Linked DNA regions of Homo sapiens: region 2 is linked to region 1. The links are contacts of gene promoters, found by promoter capture Hi-C in blood cells and fetal thymus (Javierre and others, 2016). All regions are on one chromosome and are shown on one strand. Each heading gives the region's core, a stretch centred on a gene start or on the middle of the fragment in contact. The rest is flanking DNA. Distances are from core to core; before and after follow the strand shown. Region 1 holds the start of APLN (apelin). Region 2 has its middle 25 kb from the start of RAB33A.

Region 1 (5,836 bases), core at 287-2,786:
TGCCCTGCCTTCTCCTTCTTTCTGCTCCCACCTCCCTGTGACTCCAGCCATGGTCCTGGCGTTAGTCCACCTGGTCTTGGCCTTCCCCTTGTGTGGTGCCAGGCAGGCAGCAATGACAGCCAGATCATAGGACTGTGGCAGCTGGAGGTGGGAGCTGGCAGCCCCAGGAGACATTGACACAGAGGACAGGCAGCCTGGGATGGGGCTGCTGGGGCGTGGTTGGGGACCAGGCTAGGGGCGGACATGGGCACTAGTGCCAAGTATTGGCAGGTGAGGGCAAAAGGACTCCCCTTTCCTGAGCTGCAGGGAGGGGTCGGGTCAGGTGCTGTGCTTCCTCCTTTGGTGCCTAGCGGCAGGGAGACTAAAGTGAAGCATGTCCGTGCCTGGGACAGAAAGGAAGGCTGGAGCCAGGATGTAAGAGAACCAAGTCTCTGGGGGTGGGATGGAGGCTATGGGGAGGGCATCCTGTGCAGGGGAGGAGACCAGCCAGGACCTTGGGGTTAGGGAGGAGAAGACCAGCCCAGCCCGGCTGGGCCCGGCCCTGCCTGGGGGAGGCTGCCTCTGCTCACACATGCAGGCCGAAAGGAGCAACAGCTGGGCTCCATGCCGCCACCCCCTCCGCGCACTCCTGCCTATGCAACAAGTGTCACGTCTGCATGTTGGCACATCATCCCCGGTTTCCCGCGCCCCTGGACTGGCGGGAGGCTCCCAGCCTTCAGGGACCAGAAGACGTTCAACATGGGAGCCCAGCCCACTCGACTCTGGTCAGTTCCTTCCATCGATCCACGAGGGAGCGGGCATGTCCCCCGCCTCCACCTCTACCACGCGGGGTGCAGGGCGTGGGACACGCGGCGCACACCTGTGGTCCTGAGCTCCTGGGACTGCGAGCGACGGTTAGGAGGGACAAGGTGACGGGCAGGTGATGCCAAAGGCCGAGTTGAGCCCCGCAAAAGAAGCAGTCCTTGTGGCCAGCCGCCCCATGGCTCGGGGCGCTCTGTCAATCTGCTGCCTGGCGCTGGCCGGCGCGTGGCTGCTACTGCACGGCTCGCGCCGGGCTCCCCGGGAGGCGGGGAGAGTGCGAATAGGGCGGAGGGAAAGGAGCACGCCGGCTGCAGCCCGGGCGAGCGGGAGGGCGCGCACTCACCTCCACACACCGCGGTCAAGGAGAGCCAGAGCAGCAGGAGCGCCTGCACGCAGAGCCGCAGATTCATGCTGCTCCTTGGGCCGCCGCGGCCCCGGCGAGCCGGCGCGGGGGAGGAGAGGTCGGGCGCCCGGAGGCCAAGAAAGGCGCGAGCCGCGGCTGGCGCGTGCGGGCGCAGAGCTCGGGAGGCTCCCCGGCCGCTGAGTGTGCGCGCTGAGCCCCGCCGCTCCCGCTGGCCGCCTCCGCTCTTCTGCAGCCTCCTCTCCCGCCGCGGGGCAGCGCCGCGAAGCTGGCCTCGGCGGCTCCGGGAGCGGCAGCGGCGAGCTCTTTCTTAGCGGCTGGCTGCTCGGCCGCGGCTGCAACTGCCCGTGACCCCGGCTGCCAGAGAGAATGCTCCCCGCTCACTCCAGGGGCTGCATTTTGTAGCTTGTGGCTTGGCCGCGAGCCCACTTGGTCATGTGGTCATCGGGAGGGCTAGAGGGGGGGCAGGAAGAGGGAGAGGGAGCGAGCCTCCCGCACCGCCCCCCTCCAGGCACGCACTCTGCAGCCCCAGCCCGAGCGTGAGCGCGAGAGGGAACCCCGAGGTGGCCCCACAACAAAGGCTGCGCGGCCTCTCTGACAACCTACAACCGCTCCCCGGACAATGCCCGCCTGGCCGGGGGCCAGAGGGTTTGCAGAGACCTGAAGGATTTCAAACACAGGAAGCATTTGGGGCGGTGGAGGGGCACACTTAACCCTTTCTCACCTTGCTTCCTTAACAGCTGTCAGGAAACCTGGGCGCTTAGGGAAGGACTCAGTCTGGGTTGCCTTCACTCACGCCCTCTACCTCTGACCCTGGTCCTTGCCCTTGCCGCTGGCCAGCTTCAAGGGTTTGGTCAAGACAACCAAACACTGGCCCTCCTCTCTCCTCTGCATTTTCAACTGGCTTTGAATTGGGGGTGACTGCCTAGGCTTGTGCCCAAGGCTTGATTAATTGCCCAGGCCCCTCATGTTCCCTGCATCCCCCAGGAGGCACCCTCTACCTGGAATGCCCCCACCCCACCCTTCCGTGAGCAATTCATTCTTTGCAGCAGCACCTCAAATCCCATCGCATCCAGAAGCCTTCTCAGGATAACACTAATCCAGCAGGGGCCGCCCATCAGCTCCTCCCCACTGTTGGGACATGGGACAGCTCCTATGGTCTACCCTTTCTTGTTCCCTGGAGCTGTCCTCATTCTAGTTCCCCATCAACGTAAGAGGCAGGTGGTTTACCCAACTCCACACAGTCAAGGCTGGATTCATTTTGCGTGTACTTGCGATTCCGCTTTAGAAGCGGGTCCTGAAGTTGTTTGCCTTTCCAGACTCGATTGTTAGCTGCTTCTATAGCTTGGGAGCTCCCAAGGCATGGGGCTGCTTCCCTCATTGGACTGGGAACCCCCTAAGGTAGGATACTGTCTTCTCACTCTTCTGGATCTCTCCAAAGTCCCCAATATCTTGCTCTGCACATAGGTGGCACTCAACACATATTAAAAGACTGAATCGAAAGGTGTCTCCACCTTTCAGCAAGCCAGGCAGTTTGCTTGAAGTGTTAAGTCCAGATTTACACAAAAGATACATTGGACAGGGTGCGTGTGTGCCATAAAAGACATGAGAGACCATGGCATATTTAAAATATCTTTGAAATGTTGCAAAAATCCTATATATACACAATGTATTTATTATCAGTCTCTCTCCACCAGAAGGGTTACCTCCACAAGGGAGGGATCTTTGCTTTGTTCACAGCTGTGTCCCCAGACCTAGAACAGTACCTGCGACATGACTGGTACTCAATACATAATTTTGAATATATAAATGAAATTTTCAAAAACATCTTTACTGCCTAAATTCAGGTAGCAGGAAGGGAATAAGATAAGGTTCTCATTAATAGCCTATGGCCCATTAACCACACTCAAGTAAAAAAAAAAAGCATGTGAAGCATGGCACCCCTCTTCATCCTTGAGACCCAGGATATGAGTAGCAGACATGGGTAGCAGGAGACCATTCTCCCTTCACTGTTCCCCTGGAAAGAGTTTGCTTTCTTTCTCTTTTCTTTTTCTTTTTTTCTTTTTTCTTTCTTTCTTCTTTTTTTTTTTTTTTTTTTTGAGACCGAGTTTTGCTCTGTCGCTCAAGCTGGAGTGCAATACCCTATCTCAGCTCACTGCAACCTCCGCCTCCCAGGTTCAAGCGATTCTCCTGCCTCAGCCTCCTGAGTAGCTGGGATTACAGGCATGCGCCACCATGCCCGACTAATTTTGTATTTTTAGTAGAGACGGGGTTTCACCAGGTTGGTCAGGCTGGTCTCGAACTCCTGACCTCAGATGATCCACCCGCCTCGGCCTCCCAAAGTGTTGGGATTACAGGCGTTAGCCACCACGCCTGGATGGAAAGCATTTTCTAACCAGGAGGAGAAACACCTGGCTTCTAGTCTCCACCCTCATTTGCTGTAGGGCCTTGCCATCATCACCTAAACTTACTGGGGTTCATGGAGGTGATAATCTCTGCTCTACCCACTTCAAAGTTGTTATGGGATTAAGTGAGATAATGTGCCTGAAGGTACCGTGCAAATTAAGAATAAGCTCTTGCAGGGTTGTTTTTAGGAAACTTGGTGCTCCAATCCTTGATTGGGCAAGCCCATGCACACCCAAATAAGTGTCCCCCATAACTAGGTTAATAGAAGCCTTCATATTTAATTGCACCTTTACTAGGGTGTGTATGGCATATTGCTAAGTGGTTGGAACACATAGCGCTTTCTAATACAATAGCCACTAATCATATTTCCAATGAAGTTTAAAATTCAGTTCCTCAGTTCCACTGGCCACGCTTCAATTGCCTATATGTGGCTAGTGGCTACTGTATTGGACAGCACAGAATAGAATCTTCAATCACTGCAGAAAGTTCTATTGGTTAGAGCATTCATTCATTCTTCTTTTTTCTATAATCCATTTTCCCACCCTACCTAGCCTTCAAAATGTACAAGGTGAGGGGAAAAAAAGCATAAAAGCAAACCAATAGAAATTCAAGCCAAGCTGAAGGCATGCGTTTAGAGTAAGATTTAAAGATCTGACACTTGGGAGAATCATTTTTTAATTGAATCCTTCTCTTCATTTAACCAAATTACATCCATTTTTTTTTAGAGGCAGGGTCTTGCTCTGTTACCCTAGGCTGAAGTGCAGTAGTGCAATCACAGCCCAATGCAGGCTCAAACTTCTAGGCTCAAGTGATCCTCCCACCTCAGCCTCCCAAGTAGCTGGGACTACAGACATGCACCACCATACCAGGCTAATTTTTAAATTTATTTATATTTTTTGTAGAGACTGAGTCTTACTATGTTTCTCAGGCTGGTCTTAAACTCCTGGTCTCAAGCAATCCTCCCATCTCGGCCTCCCAAAGTGCTGGGATTACAAGTGTGAGTCACCATGCCTGGCCACATCTGTTTTCGTAGTCCCAGATCCAAGATTTCATCTTTCTTTCTCAGGACACCCTTGCCCACAGTGACTTTGCCCTCTCCATAACAGCTATGGCTGTACCTGTCATTGGTAGGTCCTCTCACAGTGCATCAGGAACACTTTTGCATCTGCACACTGTGCTCTACGGGCCTGCTGTAATTCTGCAGAGAGGACCCATCACCACCATATCCATTCAGGGGTCAAGGCCCATGAGGCAAGGAACGCAGCTCTGATTGCCCACTCTGAACCCCTTGTAGGCTCCCAGATATCTTAATATCAGATTGAAATGACCAGTTTTCGAATATCTGTATCTATTTGCCAGACTTTAAGGTCACTGCTGTGATAGCACCTAGCACAATGCCTGGCACATAATTGATACTTCATAACTGCCTGTCAGGTGAGCAACTGTCGGCCCAACACTGTGCTGTCTTTTGTTCAGGATACTATTGAATGAATATCAGCAGGATAAATGTTTTAAGGCATAAGTCTCCAATCCCTGGGCCATGGACCACTATGGCTCCCTGTTCTATTAGGAACCAGGCCTCACAGCAGGAGGTGAGCAGCAGATGGGCCAGCGAAGCATCATCTGTATTTACAGCCGCTCTCCATTGCTCCCATTACCACCTGAGCTCCACCTTCTGTCAGATCAGCAGTGGCGTTACATTGTCATAGGAGCACGAACCCTATTGTAAACTGCATGTGTGAGGGATCTAGGTTGCATGTTCTTTATGAGAATCTAATGCCTGATGATCTGTCACTGTCTCTCATCACCCCCAGATGGGACCATCTAGTTGTAGGAAAACAAACTCAGGGCTCCCACTGATTCTACATTGTGGTGAGTTGTAGCATTATTTCATTATATATTACAAAAAAAAAATAGAAATAAAGTGCACAATAAATATAATGCACTTGAGTCATCCTGAAACCATCCCTCCTAACCCTAGTCCATGGAAAAGTTGTCTTTCATGAAACCAATCCCTGATGCCAAAAATGTGGGGACCACTGTTTCAAGGTATTTCTCTGGAGATGGGAAGGAGGTACATGAAACTGTCCACACTCTCCTGCCCTGAGGCAGCAAGTAGCTGTAAAATTTCTGGAAATGTTGCTGCATTTGGGGCTCAGGACCTGTGGTCAGCAGCAAGACTCAGTTTCCAGTCAAGGTGAGGGACAATCCTGGGGGCAAGGGTAGGACTCAGTGCATTGTTGGGGACAGAAGTGAGATAGCTGACCT
Region 2 (6,501 bases), core at 1,877-4,376, 540 kb after region 1:
GCCTCGTGGCCCTTGCCTGTAATCCCAGCTACTTGGGAGGCTGAGGCAGGAGAATCGCTTGAACCTGGGAGGCAGAGGTTGCAATGAGCCAAGATAGCGCCATTGCACTCCAGCCTGGGCGACAGAGTGAGACTCCGTTTCAAAACAAAACAAAACAAAACAAAACAAAACAAAACAAAACAGGCTGACCTAACCCCTACTCACCAATTCCAGGTAGAAACCCTGGCACCTCAGATAAAGGAGAGGTACCCCAGGCATTGTTGTTCTCCCTGTCTATTTAGGGAGATCACCAAATGAGAAGGATGATATCAGACCACATCTAGTTTTCAGTCTCGATGCTTCCAACCGAAATAATGACAATTATTAATAGCAGCTAACATTTATCGAGTGCTGTGTACTACTAAGTACAATGTTATATGCTTAATGTGGACCGTCATGCTTAATCCTCACATCACAATTACCCTCTGAGGTACAGAATGATCAAAGCTTCCTGCCGAAGGCCACATGACTGCAAGTGTTGGAGCAGACTAGAACTGAATGGTCTGAACCACAATGTTAATTTCCCTTATCTTTCTCTATTTCTCTCAACCCTGAGAGGAGGATGTGCTCCTGGGCCTGAAGTTAATGGTCCCATCTCTGCTTCATTTAGGATTAACTAGTAGATTAGATGGGAGTTGATGTTAGATGCCAGATATTATTTTATTGAAATTCAAGAAAATCCTGTAAAAATGATTTTCAATTCCATTTTGCAGAGGTGGAAACTGAGGTAATTTGTCATTCAGAAAATAAATGGTTATCAGGAAGTACTGACCTGTTCACATTATAGAGCACCATTTTCCTTGCCCTGGTTTTAATCAAATCAGAGCATTTTCTTTAATGGAAGGTCTGTACTATTCAAAGCTGACTTTTGATCTGTCGACAAGTAAACAATCCTTATCCGGAGATCGACAACTTCATTCCCTTCATTCTTAGCTGAATTCATTCTTAGGTCAGGCTTGGGCCCAGAACGTGGGGGTAAGGGTTGAGCAGGCTCCTGAGGAACAAATCATCCTCCCAGGAGGGGAGGGCAAGGCAGGGGGATGGAAAGTCTAGGAACGGATGGGCCAGCTTGAACAACTGAAACTTTTAAAAAAGAGGTATTTTAGAGGAGCTTCCTGCACCATTTGAAGGATGGGAAGAAATGACCTCCAAGGTCCTTTTCAGTTCTCCATTCCTCTGAACAACAAAAATAGTGATTGTGCACTGGTTTCTATGGCCATATGCATGTTAAGACAGCTATGAAGAGAACGAAGTTTTAGGTCTCTAGATAAGGATTGTTTACTTGTCAACAGATCAGAAGTCAGCTTCGAATAGTATAGACCTTTCAGTAAAGAAAGAAGGGAAGAGGGATTAAAACCAGAGCAGGAAAAATGGTGCTCTATAGTATGAACAAGCCAGTACTTCCTGATAACCATTTATTTTCAGAATGATGTTACCTCAGTTTCTGCATTTGCATAATGGAATCGAAAATCACCTTTATGGTATTTCCTTGAATTTAGATAAAATATAAAATGTATTTTATGCATAAACATTTGTGTATTATTCCTTATCCAATTCCCCTGACATAAAGGACACTTGTAAAGAATGAAAATGGAAGATCATTCATGTAGCGCCCAATCATTCAGTTTTAAAAATGAAGCTGTGCTGAATATGTCCTTCTTTTAAATTATTCAAAACTGAGGTAACTTGACCGCAAAGCCACTTGGAAGTTACCAAGAGAACTAAATCAACTGTTTGAAATTACTTCAAATTGTGGCCTTTAAGGATTTGACTCAATCAATAAGACAACTTGTTAAGTAGCTGAGTTTTCCAAGCTTGGGGTATCTACTAATTTATCAAGGATTCTTATGTTCTGAGGCACTGAAGATTTGCTAGATAGAAATACCCTCTTCTGTTATTTTATCAAGAAAAACACTTACACAACTTAACACTTTCCTTCGATTCTATGTTATGATAATCTAGTTAGGAGAACATACTGGAGAAGATAGACGAGGGGGAAAAATGGAGATAAGGGGAAAACAGAAAAGGACGATTTCAAGATTGAGTGAAAATATCCCTACTCTCTGAGAAAGTAAGGTATTTCTCAATCATTTTAAAAGTCCTACAAAAGGAAAGAACACTTTACTACTGCTATTTAAAATTACATGTTTTTGGCCAGGAACGGTGGCTCACGCCTGTAATCCTAGCACTTTGGGAAGCTGAGGCGGGTGGATCACCTGAGGTCAGGAGTTCGAGACCAGCCTGACCAACATGGGGAAACCCCGTCTCCACTAAAAATACAAAAAAAATTAGCTGGGCGTGATGGCGGGTGCCTGTAATCCCAGCTACTCAGGAGGTTGCGGCAGGAGACTCGCATGAACCCGGGAGGCAGAGGTTGCAGTGAGCCGAGATCGTGCCACTGCACTCCAGCCTGGGTGACAGAGCAACACCCTGTCTCAAAAAAAAAAAAAAAAAAGAAAAAAAAATTACGTTTTCATATAATTAATTGTATTGAATAAGTACCCAAGATTTCATTGATTCAAGATTCCTTTATTTCTGGAAGTGAATTACTGGTAATAATGAATAAAGAAGTTTCTTTTAAAGAAGGGGTTCTTTAGCACAAAAGGAATGCTTCCCTCCAGAGCAGACAGGATTCCGTAGTAGTTTTCAATAAGGCAGTGTCATTTCGTAGTCCTTAGACAGAAAAAGCCAGAGCTACGCTCATTTCCGACATTAGAGAATTATGCCACATGTAATTGAAGCACTGTGATAAGATGTCATCCACCCGACAGTTTGAAGGAATGTACTTCAAGACCTGGGAATTATAAGCCAAAGTTATGAATAACCACAATGTTGATGGATTGCCACTAAAACTGTCAGAGAAGATTCCACTGATGTGTTGTTTCCAGGGTCTCAGCAGTAGTGATAGTAACAGCAGTAACAGAATTAACAGCAATAACAGCTGAAGCAGCAGCAGGAGTAGCAGTAACATCAGCATTGTTTATTCATTGTCTACTCTGTCACGCCAGAGCCAAACGTTATACATATATAATATACAGATGGTCCTCGAGTTACAATGGTTTGACTTATGAGTTTTTTTTTTTTTTTTTTTTTTGAGATGGAGTCGTGCTCTGTTGCCCAGGCTGGAGTGCAGTGGCGCCACCTCGGCTCACTGTAACCTCCGCCTCCCAGGTTCAAGCAATTCTCCAGCCTCAGCCTCACAAGAAGCTGGGATTACAGGCACACGCCACCATGCCCAGCTAATTTTTGTATTTTTTTTTTTTAGTAGAGACAGGGTTTCACCATGTTGGCCAGGCTGGTCTTGAACTCCTGACCTTGTGATCCTCCCGCCTTGGCCTCCCAAAGTGCTGAGATTACAGGCATGAGCCACCGTGCCCGGCCAGACTTATGACTTTTGTTGTTGTTGTTGAGACAGAGTCTTTCTCCCTCGCCCAGGCTGGAGTGCAGGGGCACCATCTTGGCTTACTGCAACCTCCGCCTCCTGGGCTCAGGTGATCCTCCCACCTCAGCCTCCAGAGTAGCTGGGACTACAGGCGTGCACCACCACACCCGACTAATTTTTGTATTTTTAGTACAGACGGGATTTCCCCATGTTGGTCAGGCTGGTCTTGAACTCCTGGGCTCAGATGATTTGCCTGCCTCTGCCTCCCAAAGTGCTGGGATTATAGGCATGAGCCACCACGTCCAGCCAACTTATGATTTTTTGACTCTACAATGCTGTGAAAGGGATACACACACCTTCAGTAGAAACTGTACTTCAATTTTTTTTTCTGGGCTAGCAATATGCATTAGGAGATTCTCTCGTGATGCTGGGCAGTGGCAGCGAGCCACAGCTCTCAGGCAGCCATGAGATCACAAGGGGTAAACAACCAAAAACACATTGTACTGTGTTGCCAGTAGAGTTTGCCCAACTGTAGGCTAATGTAAGTGTTCTGAGCACATTCGAGGTAGGCTAGGCTAAGCTACGATGTTAGGTAAGTTAGGTGTGTTAAATGCATTTTCAAGTTATGATATTTTCAATTTAGGATGGGTATGTCATAATGCAACCCCATTGTAAGTTGAGGAGCGTTTGTGTATATATATTCCTTACAACTTTGCAAGAATATCACCATTACATGCCTCTCACTGATGAGGAAGCTGAGACTGAACAAGTTCAGGTAATTTACTCAAGGCTACACAGCTGTTCAGATACAAAACCAGGATTGAAACCTAGGACTGTTATTTCGAGGCTACACTCTCTTCAGCAGCCCCCCCAGCCACCGAATATCACAGTGGTATGGACAAACAGATATTTTTCAGTGTGGAGGATTAGAAACAGTAGAAGTCATGCACAGCAGCCTCTCCAAGTTTGTTGATGATATTAAGCTTTTTCAGGTGGTCAAATACCAAACTGACAAGAATCAAACTGCAGAAGGGTTTCAAAATCAGAGAAGAGAGGTATATGAGTATGAGCATGAGGTGAACTATGGTGTGGCCAAGTATAAGGTAGCATAATATAGGGGAAATATCTTAATACTATTAGATTGGTGCAAAAGTAATTGCGGTTTTTGCCATTGAAAGTAATGGGAAAAACCGTGATTACTTTGGCACTAACCTAATATTTATAAATGACAATTACGACTAAAGTGAACCCAGGAGCATTGATAGACATTCCTTAAAAATATTAGTCTGGTGAGCTTGAGAAACCAAGAAATATAATGGTATGCTTATCTTTAGTACTATGTGCTTCAACAGTGACCCTCAAGAAAGCCACTGGGTTAGGAAAAGAGAGTTAATAGTCATTGATTGTGAAGGTGGTGTGAGGAGGCTGGAATGAAAAACTGGGTGAAGATTCGAACTATTTCTATCTGAATAAAATTAAGACAAATAAAATCAGGAAAGGTAGTCACAATGTAGCAATAATCGTAACAATGTTGGATTGCATTCCTGTGTGCCAATCACTGTTCTAAGTGGGATATACATATACTGTATTAACTCAATTAATTCCCTCAATTCTGAGTAGATGCTGTTACATGCAATTTACAAATAAGGAAAATGAGACACAGAGCCTAAAGTCACACACACAAATCTAATCACTGGTAGGGGAGGAATTCCAACCTAGGCAGTCTGCTGCAGAGCCTGGGCTCTAACCACTCCACTGCACTGCACCTGTAAGGGTGCAGAGAGGGTTTACTGCAGAGTCAGGTATTGAATCTTGGACCTTGTAATCCTAGTATTAAGACACTCTCTTGAAGCTGTTTAAACAGGAAGTAAGACTTTACAGAGTAAGAAACTCGTTAATGGATAATAGGCTGAAAATAGTAATAGTTCCAAGAAAAGTAGGTAGATTAATAAGCCAAGCATGAGTTACAGAGAAGCTAGATACGATTAAGTCTGAAACTTCTCGAGTTTGAAATCATGTAAAGTGACTGTCCGTTATGTATTCCTTAGATTTTATGAACACAATGACCATACTATTTTTCCTGATATAATTTCCAAAAATATGAAAATGATTTTTTGAGAGCCTTGCTCTGCCACCCTTGAGTGCAGTGTGTGGGTTTATTTCTGGACTCTCATTCTATTCCACTTCTCTTTTTCTACCCTGTGGCAGGACCACACTGTTCTGATTACTTTAGCTTTGTGCCAAGTGTTTTTTCTTTTTTTTGATGGAGTCTCACTCTGTCACCCAGGCTGGAGTGCAGTGGTGCGACCTTGGCTCACTGCAACCTCCGCCTCCCGGGTTCAAGTGATTCTCCTGCCTCAGCCTCCCAAGGAGCTGGGATTACAAGCGTGTGCCACCACACCAGGCTAATTTTTGTATTTTTTGGTAGAGACAGGTTTTCGCCATGTTGGCCAGGCTGGTCTCAAACTCCTGGCCTCATGATCCACCCGCCGCGGCCTCCCAAAGTGCTGGAATTACATGCATGAGCTGCCACGCCTGACATGAAAATGATTATTGCTAGCCTCGTTACATGTTCCACCTTACAAGTGGTTCATGAACACCCTCAATAGTGTCTGTTGTTGTTCCCTTGTGTTCATGAGTTCTCATTTTTAGCTCTGAGAACATGTGGTATTTGGTTTTCTGTTCCTGCGTGGATATTTCATATAAACGGAATCACACAACATATGACCTTTTATGACTGTTTTCTTTCACTTAACATAATGTTTAAGAGGTCCATACACACTGTAGCAAGTATCAGCACTTTGTTCTTTTTTGTGGCTGAAAAATATTCCGTTGTATGGACACACCATAACTTTTGAGACAGAGTCTTGCTTTGTCACCCAGGCTGGAGTGCAGTGGTGTGATCTCAGCTCACTGCAACCTCTGCCTCCCAGGTTCAAGTGATTCTTGTGCCTCAGCCTCCCCAGTAGCTGGGACTTCAGGCACCCACCACCACACCCAGCTAATTTTTGTATTTTTAGTAGTGACGGCGTTTTGCCATGTTGCACAGGCTGGTCTCAAACTCCTGATCTCAGGTGATC

Evidence for each region. Contacts are between HindIII fragments. The CHiCAGO score rates a contact against its expected background, and 5 or more counts as called.
Region 2: a fragment that was not itself captured here is called in contact with the fragment with the promoter of APLN in region 1 in 4 of 17 cell types (neutrophils, activated CD4 T cells, total B cells and 1 more); the score reaches 8.4 in neutrophils.

Annotation. Positions count from the first base shown.
Region 1 is chrX:129,653,420-129,659,255 of GRCh38, forward strand. It overlaps APLN (apelin), which reads right to left and starts at 1,537. Exons shown (of 3, transcript NM_017413.5): 1 at 1,145-1,537. The coding sequence starts at 1,211. RefSeq lists enhancers at 809-868, 2,561-2,650, 2,661-2,720 and silencers at 1,159-1,208, 1,299-1,378. The HindIII fragment of the contact is 20,761 bases long and covers 1-5,836 here.
Region 2 is chrX:130,193,778-130,200,278 of GRCh38, forward strand. No RefSeq gene overlaps it. Among named protein-coding and RNA genes, the nearest start is that of RAB33A, 25 kb to the left of the region's middle. The HindIII fragment of the contact is 2,551 bases long and covers 1,852-4,402 here.